Regions from separate parts of the Homo sapiens genome. Here all the other regions are linked to region 1. The links are contacts of gene promoters, found by promoter capture Hi-C in blood cells and fetal thymus (Javierre and others, 2016). All regions are on one chromosome and are shown on one strand. The core of a region is centred on a gene start or on the middle of the fragment in contact, and the rest is flanking DNA. Distances in the headings are between cores, read along the strand shown. Region 1 holds the start of CABYR (calcium binding tyrosine phosphorylation regulated). Region 2 overlaps RIOK3 (RIO kinase 3). Region 3 overlaps RMC1 (regulator of MON1-CCZ1). Region 4 overlaps NPC1 (NPC intracellular cholesterol transporter 1). Region 5 has its middle 7.7 kb from the start of NPC1. Region 6 overlaps ANKRD29 (ankyrin repeat domain 29).

Region 1 (2,535 bases), core at 15-2,514:
ACATATATATATTTGATACATACTCATATATATCATATGTCTAATTTTCTTTAAGTACCCAAAGTGAGTAGATAGACCGTTTTGAAAGTGGCTCCCAGAGGCCGGGCGCGGTGGCTCACGCCTGTAATCCCAGCACTTTGGGAGGCCGAGTCGGGCGGATCACGAGGCGAGGTCAGGAGATGGAGACCATCCTGGCTAACACGGTGAAACCCCGTCTCTACTAAAACAAAAAATCAGCCGGGCGTGGTGGCGGGTGCCTGTAGTCCCAGCTACTCGGGAGGCTGAGGCAGGAGAATGGCGTGAATCCGGGAGGCGGAGCTGACAGCCGAGATCGCGCCACTGCACTCCAGCCTGGGTGACACAGCTAGAGTCCGTCTCAAAAAAAAAAAAAAAGAATAAAAAAGAAAGTGGCTCCCAGAAACCATGATGGCGCCAACAACCTTTCAGGAGGCAGTTAGCAGTTGGTGCTACCAAAGGTGGGGACAGCGGCCATGCACTCCATGATCCCCCGTCCCACTAGTTCTCACCCCGACTTTGGGAACGTGTGGGGCCAGGGACGCTAAACGTCCTACAGTTCAGTTCCCCACAAAGAACTGTCCTAAGCAAGCTGAGAAAAGTCAACGGGTAAAATTGTCACAAACACTATTAGGGTTATTTAAAAGCGACAGCTTAATAATTCTTCCCAGATCTCTCCTATCACCAATACTGGTCCACCACTGGCGGAATTTAAATCCTGCCCCGCCCAACTGTAAACGTCCATGCGCCCACTACCACAAGGGTAACGCCTTAAGCGAGAAATACGATGCCTTTCAGGATGCCAGCGGGGACTTCGGAGCCATAGGTAACCGCACTCCCCGACCTCTCCCTAAAGAACCTCCGGGATGTGGGCCCCCGCTGTGTCAGTGCTCGTTTTGCGCTAGGTCTGTTTGGGAGAGACGGGAGTGAAATGTAGGAGGCTGGGCGTGCTCACATCGCCTGGACTTGTCCAAGAGAGGCGGGCGACGGACCCACCGAGGCCTCAGATTCGGCAGCTGGCCGTCTGGTCGCCGCACTCCCCGGTGTGGGCCGGGGCCGCCCCACAGGCCCCCCACCCCCGACTCTGAGGACCCTCCGCCTGCCCCGACGACCTCTCCCACTGCGAGAGACTCCCTGAGACATAATGGTCTCCGAGGCCGCAGGGTGCGCCTTTTCTCCAGATTCTCCCCACCTGCTTTCCGGCCGCGCTCTTAAGAGCTTCCTCGTTGCCCCCTTGCCGGCGGCTCCTGAGGAGACTTGGCGCTTGCGAGCGTTTTTATAGCCCCGCAGGCATCGGGGCGTGCATCACGAAGCTCCGCATCACAAAGCTCCGCACCACTCAAGGAGGCGGGGCCACAGCGGCCGCAGCCAATGGGGAGCCGAAAGCGACAAAGGCCATGATTTGGCCGGCGAGGGAGACTTATTTCCCCTTTTCTGGCTAAATCTGAACGGATTTAGGTGATTTCCCAACAAATAGCCAGGAGTAGCTCAAAGCGACTGCCTCTCCGTCTTTGGTCGTTGAGCTTAAAATTAGAGCTCGTTTGGAAAGAAAGTAAGAGATTTATGGCAGTGCTGTCTTGTCACTGCCTCGCCATTCCACACATTGCTCCTGGCCCCATAAACTATAGCTCTCTTCGGTCACCTTTAGGAATAATAATTTCTGCCACGTTGTAGACACACAGTGAATAATTGTATGCAACAGAGCACTTTTTCTTTTGTGAAACTCGCCTGTGGAATGGGAGTTCAGCATGAATCCAGAAACTTCCTGTTTCTCCACAGTTGAGATCAGACACCAACTATCCCCACAAAGCACACCGTCAGCAACAAGTCAAGGTGTTACTGTGTGTAACTTCAGCTCAATTTTACCAAACTAAAGGAATACTGCTTCATTTAAAAACGCCCACTCTGCCGGGCACGGTGGCTCACGCCTGTAATCCCAGCACTTTCGGAGGCCGAGGCGGGTGGATCACGAGGTCAGGAGTTCAAGACCAGCCTGGCCAAGATGGTGAAACCCTGTCTCTACTAAAAATACAAAATATTAGCCGGTCGTGGTGGTGGGTGCCTGTAATCCCAGCTACTCTGGAGGTTGAGGCAGAGAATTGCTTGAACCTGGGAGGCGGAGGTTGCAGTGAGCCCAGATCACACCACTGCACTCCAGCCTGGGCTACTGAGCGAGACTCCGTCTCAAAAAAACAAAAAACAAAACAAAAAAAACAAAAAAACGCCCACTCTCTGCTCTTTCACTCATTTAGGCTCAGGTATTTGGGCTGGGCTCTAAATAACACCATAATCATGATTATCAGAGTACAAGCAGCCTTAATTTTGATCCATCTTCAAATGTTTAAAAAGCAACTACTTTAAACCAAAGAGCATCGCCAGGGCAGATATCTGACCAAAAACAAAACAAAACAAAACAAAAACCAAACCAAAATAAAACAAAACCCTATTTTTTAATTCAGAAAAAATTAGGGCTTCCAGAGCACTTTGCAATAAAAGCAATGTTAAGGCCTCAGTCAGCAT
Region 2 (2,535 bases), core at 17-2,516, 670 kb after region 1:
ACAATTACGCACTGGCAGAGGTATGGGTAGGAGCTACAGGAGCACACAGCACCAAGGATGGCTTATTAGAAGAAGAGGTAGGGAACAGGAATTAGCCAGATAAAGACAGTGCAAGGGAATGCAGGGAGGTGTTCAAGAGCACAGTCCATTTGGGGAATGTATATCAATCAACATAGCTGGATCTGTGAGTAGGAGGAAGGGCAATGTGGGCTGAGGCTACAAAGACAGGCAAGCTCCACTATGGAAAACTGTTGAAGAATTTTAAGAAAGGCAGGAATTTCAGGAGTACAGAAAAGAGACTGGAGGACAGCAAGACCTTCTAGAAAATGATTCTACCTGGAATTAATTAATTTATTGAAAAAACATTTTTTTTTCTTTTTGAGACAAGGTCTTGGGAGTCTAACGTTTCCAGGCTGGTTTTGAACTCCTAGGTTCAAGCAGTCCTCCCATCTCAGCCTCCCAAGTAGCTGGGAGTACACGTGCACACCATGCCTGGCTTATTTTGGTGGGGAACTCTCAGTAGAAGAATTTTGTAACTGATATATATGAATAATTACTTTTGAAAGCAAATATCTTTAGAAAATAACAAACTAAAATTAAGCTTTTAATAAATTAAGATAATAGAAAGGTTTTTAATGAGAAGGATTATTACTGAATTTCTTGGTTGACAAAACAAATTCTTTGATAGAAAATAAATTGCTTAGAAAATTCAGATACAAGTATAAAAATTAAAACAAAATGTAATTTGATTGGTAAGAACTTACTCCCACAAAATTAACAAATTAAATGCAACAAACATTTTCTGAAACAAAAAAGAAACCATTTTTTTATGCTAAGCCTAATTGGATGCTGGAAGTTTTACTTCGTGATAAAAGCAATTTAAAAATGGCATTTAGATATATGATAAAGTGTCTAAGGCAGAAAATGCCCAGATTTCCCTCAAGCTTCATTGAGGAAAGAAAAAAGAAAATGGCTTTTTCATCCTAAAAGTATGAATCGAGGTTATACACCTGGCCTTTCATTATTTCTATAAATGAATGTAAAAGAAAGCATGGATTTTTTTATCCTAATGCAAAAAGGTATTTACCCAAGATTACGTCTAGCACAATATTTTCTTTACCTTGCGAGATTGTGCATTTCTTTTTCTGCCCACATGCGGATGATCTTACGTGGATTTAGTTTACTGAAGCGATCTTTAAACCTGAAATCATCTTTAATATATTTGTCACGATTCTTAAATTCATTAAGGGTTGTTTTAAATACCTTGATGGCACATTCTGTAGGTATAACTTTACTATCTTCCTTTTCATCCTCCATGCTAAGTGGAAGAAAAAAAATCAAGTCAGTACAAGTTGCCAGCTCACAAGTACAACAATTTCAAAATAAAGATTCTGTAACACTAAATTAGATCTACCTTCTCTCAGTGTCAAGTCTTGTTTTTTTAAGCCTTTAGGTTTTGGATCTTAATAAAGCCTTAGGTTTTGGTTTGATTTTTTAAATAAAATATACTTTCAAATAAATTGTCAACCGATTTTCAACCATCTATCACATAATGTTCTTCACTTAATGACTACGGAATCAAGCTTGAAATACAATGAAGACATATGCACTTGAAAATAGGCTACAGTCTTCCCAATATGGTTCAGGAGCAAAATTCAATAAAAAGCAACAAATAAAACAGCTTTTTAAAAAATAACTCTTTCACTCCTAGCAGACATAAAGGTGAATCAAATGGTTCCTGCCCCACAAGTCTGCAAGAAGTGGCAACGGAGAATAAAAGAAGTACATGAATAGGAAAGGTCCCTCTTCATTGGAAAGGTCAGGCAAGACTTCATGGCACAAGTGCCATCTGAAACAGAAACAGGACAATGGGTAGGATTTGAACAGCATGAACAAAAGCAGAGGCAGGAAACCACAGGACATGTCTGAGGAACAACAAACACTATAGTTAAGACTTGGCTGGAGAGAGATAATGAAAAAAAATTGGAGCTAAAGGACAGGACAGAGGCACATCTGTGAAGAGCCTGGACAAATTCCTAGAGGTGGTGGGGAATCGCGAGGGTTTCTGTGTATGGCACTCTCAAATGCGTGCTTCATGAAGATCGAGTGAACGATACTGTCAGAATGGAAGGGCACAGGGACAGGCTAGAGGTGTGGGGTCGACTCAGGATGCTACTGCAATAGTCCCCCAATAGTGAGCTTCAGTCATGATGGTGGCAGTGGGAATGAAAAAGTGGATGGAATGAGAAACAATATTAATATTTACCTTTAAATATCTGATAGGATGTTAATCTGGGAAAGAAAGGAACTATATTTCCAAAGGACAGAATCTGAATCAAACCTCCTTCTGTACCATATTCTCCCAGCTGACTCCTCTTCCATTTAGTCTCAAAAGGTTAAAGTCCTTCACCTGGTTCTAAGAAACCTTCCTTCTCTTCCTGGGCAATTTCACTTAGCCCCATGGCTCTAAATATCATCTCTATATAGACAACTCCCACATTTCTTTTTTTTTTTGAGACAGAGTCTCACTTTGTC
Region 3 (2,535 bases), core at 12-2,511, 620 kb after region 1:
AGCTAACAATCCAGGAAAATCTCACCAAGAAAAAGAAAGCATGTCAAGGCTTCAATCACTGTGGTTTGGGTTATTTTTAATAACCAAAGATGACTCATGATCGTTTACATATGCACGTTAAGGAACTGAGAAATTTACTTGAAGGATTCAAAATCAAATACCCAGATCATCCACGGAGAATGTTTCAAATAAATGTGGCTTGTAGCTTAATTATCTTTTTTTTTCTTTAAGAGAGGGTGTTGCTCTGCTGTCCAGGCTTGAGTGCAGTAGTTGATCATAGCCCACTATAACCACGAACTCCTTGGCTCAAGTGGTCCTCCTGCCTCAGCCTTCAGAGTAGCTAGGACTACAGGCATGTGACCATGCCCTAACTTTTTTTCTTTTTTTTTTTTTTTTTTTTTTTTTTGTGAAGACAAGGTCTATGTTACCTAGGCTGGTCTCCAACTCCTGGGCTTAAGTGATCTGCCCACCTCAGCCTCCCAACATGCTGCGATTACAGGCATGAGCCACTGTGCCCAGCCACTTAATTATCTAAATAATTAGTTCGATTATCCATTGCATAGAGTAGGTCCAAGCACAGTGAGCTCGTCTGGGAAGCAGACCCCCAAAACCTCACATGACAGGGACCGTTAACAACCAGTTATACTGCTCATGAGCCATGCAGGCAGCCCTACAAGCTAACCATGACTCCTGGTTCTGTTCCAATTACCCAGGTACAATCAGAAGGCAGGTTTCAATCAGCTGGTCAGAGAAAGGGTCATTGTGAACAGACCACCCAAAGGTAGGAAAGAGCCCAGGCAGACAAGCTTTGGCGAAGAGCACTCGCGCTTTGGACCTAAGTGTCAAGGTCTGCGCCGAGTGCACAGCCCTCACCTTTGGGTGGCTGACCTACACACTGTCAGGTGAGAGCTTTCATTTTTAAGGCCCCCCAGATGATCCTAATATGTAGTCAGATTGAGACCCACTGTTCTAACAGGCCCAAAACAAAAAGAAAAAGGGTGGCTGACTCTTCCCAAAAGTGCTGGTTATATCTTTCTCAACAGGCCCATTCAATTCCTGAGCACGCCCACCCAGTGGCAGCACAGTGGGCAAGACACACGGATGCATCAAGCCGCCAGGGCTCACAGCCCAGCAGGAAACAAAAGGAGAGTCACTAACCTCTGAAAATGCTTTGCAGCCCACACTACCTAGATCCCCAGACCCTCAGTGGATTCCTGATTTCCTCCTATTGATCTCTGCACGGGCTGTTACTGTGACCAGGCCTCGCATCTGTTCCCTTATGACCAGATGGTTAGAACCTGATGCCTCCTAACTGGTCCTGTACCACCGGAACAGAGCTGAAGGTTCTAAGCCAGGGGTGTCCAATGTTTTGGCTTCCCTGGGCCTTAAGAGGAAGAAGAAGAATGGTCTTGGGCCACACATAAAATACACTAACACTAACAATAGCTGATGAGCTTAAAAAATATCATTAAAAAAATCTCATAATGTTTTAAGAAAGTTTAAGAATTTGTGTTGGGCTGCATTCAAAGCTGTCCTGGGCCACATGTGGCCCACAGACCGTGGGTTGGACAGGCTTGTTCTAAATGTTTAGTTTTTTTCCCCCAATTCACCAGCAGTTACCTTCATGCCAAGTGGGCAGCAGACACAAGACAATCACTTGGCAAAATCTATTCTTTCAATACTAACATTATTTACAAAGGAAAAGGAAGAAGCTTGAAAGAACACAGAAAGCCAAAAGACCTAATTGAACGTCTGTTAAGAACCAGCTCCTTCCTCCAACTGTGCCAGAAAGTAACTAAGCTTTTGGCTGGTCCAGCAAGACAGGGCAGTCAGGCTGACAATGGTGCTCTTGCTGAACTTTCAGCCAGAGTGCGATTCTGAACTCCCGGGTGAACGGTACAAGGAAATCCTGACTGCAGGCTGGGTCAACCCGCCCAATGCCATCGGACAAAGAATAAAACATTACTACTAGGGTTCCAAATGTGAGCCATCTGACTACGTCTTGCACACTGAAACCTCAGACTAGCCAATTCTGCACTCCAATCTCCTTCAAAAGAGAGCCGGGAGAGACTGCTGCGAGGGACAGGCACAGAAGAAAGACCCTGTGAGAACACAGTGAGAAGGTGGCCATCTGCAAAGAGGCCTGCCAGGAGGGAGGCCTCAGAAGAAAGCAAACCTGCAGACATCTTGATCTTGAACTTCTAGCCTCCAGAACTGTGAGAAAATAAAGTTCTGTTTAAGGAAAAAAAAAAAAGAGAGAGAGTGTGTGTTGAATATTCTTTCAGTTCTATCTTAAAATCAATTACACTGGAAAAAGGCAAAACGAAGCAAATAAATGACTTCTTTCCCTTTTCCTGAATTCCTGACCTCCACTCTTCTGACTTCCCAACCCCACCTCTCCAGACAGAAGGAGGACTGATTTGGGTAAGCCTAAGAGCCACAGCCGAAGCACTTACTGTGACTGTCAGTCCCAAAGAATGCAATATTCATCATCACTGTCACACGGAATGTGAGAAAGAGAAAAGTGATCCCAGG
Region 4 (2,535 bases), core at 36-2,535, 600 kb after region 1:
GACCTCAGGTGATGTACCTGCCTCGGCCTCCCAAAGTGCTGAGATTACAGGCGTGAGCCCCCGTGCCCAGCCCGTGTTGTCTCCTTTTTTTAAGCTTTGTTCTGCACTGGGAAAGTATCACTGGACCACAGAAAAATTGGCAGCAGTAACTTAGGTGTGATTTTGCAAGTGGCTTCCTTCTCATTTAACTGTCAGGACAGCATTGATGTTGGGGTTCAGGGTGAAAGAGACCTAGAGTTCGTCTTGCCACTTTCCCCTTTTAGTAGCCACTGGGAATGTTGATAGTTGAAAATGGCATCCTTGAGTAGCCACTGAATCCTTCTCCACATGACACTCTAAGCAGCAGCTCCCAAATCCACAGGCACTCGCTTACAAGATGTTTGCCGTTGTTTTCAAAGGCAGTCTTTCTCTTCTGTGCACACAACTCATTGGGGAAGCAGCCTTGTTAATGACCAGAAGCTCTTGACTCACCACATTACAAGGAGCCAGAATAAGCTGGAACAAAGTCAGCACTTCTGTGTTTCTTTCACATAGAGAATCATCAAATAGACCCACTAGTGGGGCTGTCTGCCCCATGTCTGAAGTGTAGTAAGAGCAAAGTGACTCTGTCCACTATAGGGGAGGCTGGACTGGAATCACTCAGTCCAAAGAAGACCATCCACGGGCCACAAACTGCAATGCCTACATGGCTGGGAGGTCAGCTTAATCAGGGCCATTGTAAGGTCATTGTAGGTGGTAGTCTTTCACCACAGATACACTGCTAGCTTGTTATTCTTCATCTCCACAAAGCCATGTGCTTTTGAAACCTGTAGCCCTGTAGTTCCTTTTGACAAACACAGGTGCAGAAAAAAAAAAAAAAAAGAAAAAACTTTCTTTTTTTCACTACTATTATAAGAAAACCAGTGCAAGTGTGATGATAATAGCAGCAGAGACTGTGCCTCAAGGTTGGAGTGACCTTGGGACAGTAGGAGTGAGTAGGGATTGTGGCACCCCAACTGCACGTGTCCTATCTAAAAAGACAGTTATGTGTGTGGCCAACCCAGTGCTACAAGGTCTGTGTTGTTGTTGTTGTTTTTCTTCCAAGCAAAGCTGTGAATCTAGATTTTTGTGTAAAATGCCATTGTTAAATATTGGCAACTTATAAAAAAAAGTTTTTTAATCTTAAGATGGGTTGATACAGTGTGGGCTAAACAGGAACCATCTGATTCATGGGCTGCCAGTTTGCAGTTTCCAAGTCTTACCCTCATGCCTTTGATCCTCACTCGATTGTAGATTACCTCTTAACTAAACTGGGAGGCTAGTAGTGTTGATGTAATAAATGGAAAATACTGTCCATTTCTTACAGTGAAGCACAGAAAGTACTATAAGAAATGGCCTGTATTAGTGGTTCTCAAATTTTAATGTGTGTGAATTTGCTGTGAACCTGAGTATAGTAGAATTGGGGTTGAATTCCTGTCATAACTAGGATGGGGCTTCCCAAATGGTCTGGTGCTGAGTGTGCTTTGAAAAGCACTGGCTTATCACCTCCTGTCCCACTTCTGGTGTAATGTCCAGCCGCAGCATGCCTTCTCATGCGTTTGGCCTGTGCTGGCTCCTTGTATCTGTACATGCACATGAACATAAGACCTGCAGAGAGCCCCCGGCTGTAAACAGAAGTGACGCAGAGCCCTTCTCTCCCCGACAGGAGCATTGTCCGTGATGCCAGCCGTGCACACCTTCTCTCTCTTTGCGGGATTGGCAGTCTTCATTGACTTTCTTCTGCAGATTACCTGTTTCGTGAGTCTCTTGGGGTTAGACATTAAACGTCAAGAGGTAAGTTGGTGCCAGGATTATAGTCTATTTAATTTGAGTCTAGAATCTAGAGGAAGCAGCTAGCGGGTATAACCTTTGTTTCCCTCTGTCCCCTCAGAAAAATCGGCTAGACATCTTTTGCTGTGTCAGAGGTGCTGAAGATGGAACAAGCGTCCAGGCCTCAGAGAGCTGTTTGTTTCGCTTCTTCAAAAACTCCTATTCTCCACTTCTGCTAAAGGACTGGATGAGACCAATTGTGGTATGCGCTTATCTGTGGTTTTTCTCTTTCCTCTCACTGAAACAGATTATCACATGCCTTCTAAGAAGCCAGACAGCCTGGGAAGGAGATTCTTAAAGCTGTTAAAATGTATCTAAAAAAAAAGCAAAAGCAAATGTGGAACAGTAGATAAAATGTTTTTCCTGTGAGCTTTTATCAGTCCATATAAACAAGAGTTTTAAGTTTTTTATTTTGAAATAGTTTCAGATTCACAGAAAGTTGCAAAGAAACTTTTATTTTTCCTCTTAATAATGAGGAAATAGAAGCCAAGAGAGGTGAAGTGGTTTGCCCCAAGTCACTCAGCCCGTAAGTGGCAGAGTCAGGATTTGCACCCAGGAATTTGGACTCCTGGTGCTGTGGTCTCACCCACTGCCCTGTACTCCCTATTAGCCTGTCATTTAAGCTTTTCCATTTTAAAAAATCCTGCTTTTTGTGTGTGCTTAAGATTTTATTTCTGGTCGTAAGCT
Region 5 (2,535 bases), core at 26-2,525, 540 kb after region 1:
GCCTCCAAATCTTGGACTCAAGCGATCTGCCTGCCTTGGCCTCTCAAAGTGCTAGGATTACAGGCATGAGCCACCTTGCCCAGCCAAATTGGTGAACTTCATCTCACTGTGAAAAGATGCTAAAGTGCTTAGAACATGCCTGGCTGTGAACAAAGCCACACCATGTTATGATATTTCATGCCATTGAGCCATAGCAGCTCAGACCCTAGTATTTGTACTTCAAAGCATGGAGAAAAACAAAAACAAAAAATGACAGGCAAAACTAGCATTAGACATTCTAGTCGAGAAATGTGAAAATAATTATTCTTCTGCTTAATGTAATGAACACATGGAGGGTAAACTAGTCACACAGAGGTGTTTTCTCTGGGCCCTCTGACTATACTTAGCCCTCAGTTAAATAACCTATGTATCACTGGGTCTGGAAAGTCTTCGATTCTTTTCCTGGTGACCTAATCCTTATTTTTAGCAATACTTTCAGGTAATTTTAAAATATGAGTGAGGCTAGGCATGGTGGCTCATGCTTCTAATCCCAGCACTTTGGGAGGCTGGGGTGGGAAAAGCACTTGAGCCCAAGAGTTTGAGACTAGCCTGGGCAACAAAGTGAGACTCCGTCTGTACAAAAAATACAAAAAATTAGCCTGGCATGGTGGTGTGTGCCAGAAGTCCCAGCTACTCAGGAGGCTAAGGTAGGAGGATCACTTGAGCCTTGGGAGGTCGAGCTGTGATCTCACTACTGCACTCCAGCCTGGGTAATAGAGCAATTCCCTCTCTCTCAAAAAAAAAATTAATTTATTAATATGAATGAGGTTATGTTTCAACAAAGGAATTCAGCTAGGCACAGTGGCTCACATCTATAATCCCAGCACTTTGGGAGGCCAAGGCGGGCAGATCACTTGAGGCCAGGAGGTCGAGACCAGCCTGGCCAACATGCCGAAACCCTGTCCCTACTAAAACTTAATAAATTAGCCAGGTGTGGTGGTGGGCGCCCATAATCCCAGCTACTCAGGAGGCTGAGGCAGGAAAATCACTTGAACCCAGGAGGCGGAGGTTGCAGTGAGCCAAGATCGCACCACTGAACTCCAGCCTGGGCGACAGAGTGTGACTCCATCTCAAAAAGTAAAAATAAAATAAAGTAAAATAAAAATAACATAAAGGAAGTTAATTAAAGATCTTCAGTTCTTAGGTGACATGTCAGCCTTATCTCTGTCAACAGAAAAAATTCCTTCCGCTATCTTTGGTTCTTCTTCCCTCCCTCACTAGGATTGAATCCTCCGAGCTTTAATGAGTGAAATGCTGTTGTTATTCCTACATTTCAAGTTTTAAGAATAGTCTTAGAAAGTCTTCAGTTTACAGGAGTTGGACTCTCCATTTTAGGAAACATTTGATCAAAAACCACCCCTGGCAAAGGAAACTATGTCCTGTGAGCAAATCCTGCAGGGAAGGCAATGCCAGTTTGAAACCCTGACTGCTAAACCACAAGTCATTCCAACTCTGGTAGCATCCTAACTGAGTGGAAGTTACACCACAACCCATGACTGGATTAATCACCAACTCAAACATCCTTCCTTACTAGGATGAGTAACATTTTACCAGAATTCTGAGCAACAATGCCCATTTCCGAGTAGGTCATAACCATTGGTACTAAAGTCATGAGTTGTAGCTGTAAGCTATTTTAAATGAAGATGTCTATAAAATTTGGCTTGCGTAAGTAAAGAGTTTAAAAAGTCTATCACAGAACCCAAAGTAATTGAGTGTGTATACTGAACACATGACCTGTACAACAGTGCTCACAGCACCTTTATTTGTAACAGCCCAAACTGGAAGAAGAAACAACCCAGATGTCTGCCATGATATGTTTGAGCCATGGAATACTACACAGCAATTCTTTTAAAAGATGCTACCACCACAAGTAATGTGGATGAGCCACACACATAATGTTCAGTGAAAGAAACCAGACGCAGAGGAGTATGATTCCCTTTACATGAAGTTCAAGGACAGGCAAAACCAACTTACAGTGAGAGAAATCAGAAGAGTGGTTGCCTCCCGGTTAAAGGAGGGGTGATGATATCGACTGGGAAAGGGGCATAAAGGAGGCTTCTGAAGTGCTAAAGTTTCCATATCCTTCCTCTGGGTGTTGGCTACATGGATGTTGTGGTTGCCAGCCTCCAAGATGGCCCCAGTGCTCCCCTCCTCTTGTCCTTGTCTGGTCCCCTTCCTACACTGCATCAGGACTGGTCTGTGTGCCCAGTATTACATGGCAGAAGTGATGGCATATAACATTTGAGGCTAACTCATAACAGACATTATGGCTCTGCCTTGCTCTCAATCCCTTTTGGATCACTCCTTCTGGAGGAAGCCAGCTGCCAAGTCCTGAGGACACTCAGCAGCCTATGGAGAGGAGGAACTGAGGCCTCCTTCCCACAGCATCTTTTTTTTTTTTTTTTTTGAGACAGAGTCTTGCTCAGTCACCCAGGCAGGAGTGCAGTGGCATGATCTCAGCTCACTGGAACCTCGGCCTCCTGGGTTCAAGCAATT
Region 6 (2,535 bases), core at 23-2,522, 530 kb after region 1:
GGAAGACTGCTTGAGGCCAGGAGTTAGAGACCAGCCTGGAGAATATAGTAAGACCCTATCTCTACAAAAGTTTAAAAATTAGATGGATGCCATGGTGTGTGGCTGTAGTCCCAGCTGAGGCAGGAGGATTGCTTGAGCCCAGGAGTTCAAGGTTACTGTGAGCTGTGATTGTATCTTTGCACTTCTGCCAGGGCAACGGAGTGAAACCCTGCCTCTGCAAAAATTTTTAAAAGTAGAAGCCGTTCTTAGCTTGCAGGATTTGATTTGCAGGCTGTGGTTTGCTGACCCCTGAGATATAATGCTCCTGTTTTATTACATACAGGACACCAAATCTGTTCTAAATGGACACAGCGGCTTAGCTTTAGGACTGTCCTCTCAGAGTCTATCAATGTATATAAAACCTACTTGCCCTTGAATGACCCCAGACACTTTTTGGATATTTTGTGTCTGCTCTTTATATTTTTAGATTCCATTCTTGCTGACAGTTAATACAGAACTGCTGTTGTCAATGTGTTGGCCTCTCTCCCCTGCCCTAATGAGCTCATGAGCTACTTTCATCTGCCATGAGCTTTTTTTTTTTTTTTTTGGAGACAGGGTCTCGCTATGTTGCCCAGGCTGGTCTTGACCTTTGAACTCCTGGGCTCAAGTGATTCTCTCATCCTCCTGCCTCAGCCTCCTAAAGCGCTGGGATTACAGGTGTGAGCCACTGTGTCTGGCCTGCCATGAGCTTTAGAAGCCAGAAAGCTGCACTTGTTAAAATTGTTTGTAAAGTAAGAATAAACCATCTATGAAAATGAATTCTATGAACAAAAGGAATAAGCTTTAGAAAGCTTGGACTTTGCAAAATATAGTCTTGTTTCAAACAGCTCTTTTTTGGCTTTTTAAAAACTCCTGGTCTGGTGTGGTGGCTCACACCTGTAATCCTAGCTCTTTGGGAGGCCAAGGTGGGCGAATCACCTGAGATTAGGAGTTCAAGACCAGCTTGGCCAATGTGGTGAAACCCCGTCTCTACTAAAAATACAAAAATAAGCCAAGAGTGGTGGTGTACACCTGTAATCCCAGCTACTCAGGAGTTTGAGGCAGGAGAACCTGGGAGGCAGAGGTTGCAATGAGCCGAGATCACGCCACTGCACTCCAGCCCAGGTGACAAGAGCAAAACTCCATCTCCAGAAAAAAGAAAAAAAAGAGGCCAAAAAGCTGCACTTGTTAAAATTGTTTGTAAAGGCCGGGCACACTGGCTCACGCTTGTAATCCCAGCACTTTGGGAGGCAAAGGCGGGTGGATCACCTGAGGTCAGGAGTTCAAGACCAGCCTGGCCAACATGATGAAACCCTGTCTCTACAAAAATACAAAAATTAGCTGGGCGTGGGGGCTCATGCCTGTAATCCCAGCACTTTGGAAGGCCAAGGCAGGAGGATCACGAGGTCAGGAAATCAAGACCATCCTGGCTAACACGGTGAAACCCTGTCTCTACTAAAAATACAAAAAATTAGCCGGGTGTGTGGCGGGCGCCTGTAGTGCCAGCTACTTGGAAGACTGAGGCAGGAGAATGGCGTGAACCCGGGAGGCAGAGCTTGCAGTGAGCCGAGATCACACCACTGCACTCAAGCCTGGGTGACAAAGCAAGACTCCGTATCAAAAAAAAAAAAAAAATTGTAAAGTAAAAATAAACCATCTATGAAAGTGAATTCTATGAATAAAAGGAACAAGCTTTAGAAAGCTTGAACTTTGCAAAATCTAATCTTGTTTCAAATAGCTCTTTTTTGGCTTTTTAAAAACTCCTGGTCAGGCATGGTGGCTCACACCTGTAATCCCAGCCCTTTGGGAGGCTGAGGTGGGCAAAACACCTGAGCTCAGGAGTTGGCGACCAGCCCAGGCAACATGGCGAAACCCTGTCTCTACAAAAAATACAAAAATTAGCAGAGTGGCTGTTACACACCTGTAGTCCCAGCTACTCAGGAGGCTGAGGCACGAGAATCGTTTGAGCCCTGGAGGCAGAGGTTGCAGTGAACTGAGATTGCGCCATTGCACTCCAGCCTGGGAGACAGAGCGAGACACTGTCTCCAAAAAAAAAAAAAAAAAAAAAAAAATTCTGACCCGTGTTGCATGTAGGTGAAGTTGATAGATTGGCTAAGATTTAGACAAGTAAATTGTTACAAGAGTAGTGAATTATCATACATACTTAAAAGCAACCATAGAAAAATGCTACTTTGTGGGAATTTTTCTCTGGGTATGATATTTTACTCTTTTACAAAATCAGAGTGGTTTTTATTATGAGCAACTAATTAGGAAACTAAGTTTGCATTAGGTACTATTTATGGACATATGTACCCTCTAGAACCATGTCTTATGACTGCCCACTGTTCTTAGTTTTGTTATAGTCTCCTCCCCTCCTCTCCGTGGTCCAGCTACATGCTGCATTTAGCTGGTTCCTTATTTTGATAAATATTTGCAGTAAATGTCATAAAACATTAACAACTGACCTATGAGGCCCTTCTGTGCTCAAAAATGCTCCAACTCAAAGCTCCGGGGCAT

What was found. Contacts are between HindIII fragments. The CHiCAGO score rates a contact against its expected background, and 5 or more counts as called.
Region 2: a contact is called between a fragment that was not itself captured here and the fragment with the promoter of CABYR in region 1, in 3 of 17 cell types (total CD4 T cells, naive CD4 T cells and non-activated CD4 T cells). The highest score is 9.4, in total CD4 T cells.
Region 3: a contact is called between a fragment that was not itself captured here and the fragment with the promoter of CABYR in region 1, in 1 of 17 cell types (total CD8 T cells). The highest score is 5.1, in total CD8 T cells.
Region 4: a fragment that was not itself captured here is called in contact with the fragment with the promoter of CABYR in region 1 in 1 of 17 cell types (total CD4 T cells); the score reaches 6.0 in total CD4 T cells.
Region 5: a contact is called between a fragment that was not itself captured here and the fragment with the promoter of CABYR in region 1, in 1 of 17 cell types (non-activated CD4 T cells). The highest score is 6.8, in non-activated CD4 T cells.
Region 6: a contact is called between a fragment that was not itself captured here and the fragment with the promoter of CABYR in region 1, in 2 of 17 cell types (activated CD4 T cells and total CD4 T cells). The highest score is 6.2, in activated CD4 T cells.

What each region holds. Positions count from the first base shown.
Region 1 is chr18:24,137,791-24,140,325 of GRCh38, reverse strand. CABYR (calcium binding tyrosine phosphorylation regulated) reads right to left here and starts at 1,264. Exons shown (of 6, transcript NM_153769.3): 1 at 1,208-1,264. RefSeq lists an enhancer at 1,620-1,679. The HindIII fragment of the contact is 10,284 bases long and covers 1-2,535 here.
Region 2 is chr18:23,472,212-23,474,746 of GRCh38, reverse strand. It overlaps RIOK3 (RIO kinase 3), which reads right to left. Exons shown (of 13, transcript NM_003831.5): 8 at 1,121-1,318. Among named protein-coding and RNA genes, the nearest start is that of RIOK3, 20 kb to the right of the region's middle. The HindIII fragment of the contact is 639 bases long and covers 947-1,585 here.
Region 3 is chr18:23,521,415-23,523,949 of GRCh38, reverse strand. All of the region lies in intron 10 of RMC1 (regulator of MON1-CCZ1), which reads right to left. It also overlaps a transcript of NPC1 not described here. Among named protein-coding and RNA genes, the nearest start is that of RMC1, 19 kb to the right of the region's middle. The HindIII fragment of the contact is 906 bases long and covers 809-1,714 here.
Region 4 is chr18:23,540,583-23,543,117 of GRCh38, reverse strand. NPC1 (NPC intracellular cholesterol transporter 1) reads left to right here. Exons shown (of 25, transcript NM_000271.5): 15 at 1,685-1,812; 16 at 1,910-2,050. Among named protein-coding and RNA genes, the nearest start is that of RMC1, 38 kb to the right of the region's middle. RefSeq lists an enhancer at 791-840. The HindIII fragment of the contact is 2,377 bases long and covers 97-2,473 here.
Region 5 is chr18:23,592,950-23,595,484 of GRCh38, reverse strand. No RefSeq gene overlaps it. Among named protein-coding and RNA genes, the nearest start is that of NPC1, 7.7 kb to the right of the region's middle. The HindIII fragment of the contact is 6,264 bases long and covers 1-2,535 here.
Region 6 is chr18:23,612,720-23,615,254 of GRCh38, reverse strand. The region is part of intron 8 of ANKRD29 (ankyrin repeat domain 29); the gene reads left to right. Among named protein-coding and RNA genes, the nearest start is that of NPC1, 27 kb to the right of the region's middle. The HindIII fragment of the contact is 880 bases long and covers 833-1,712 here.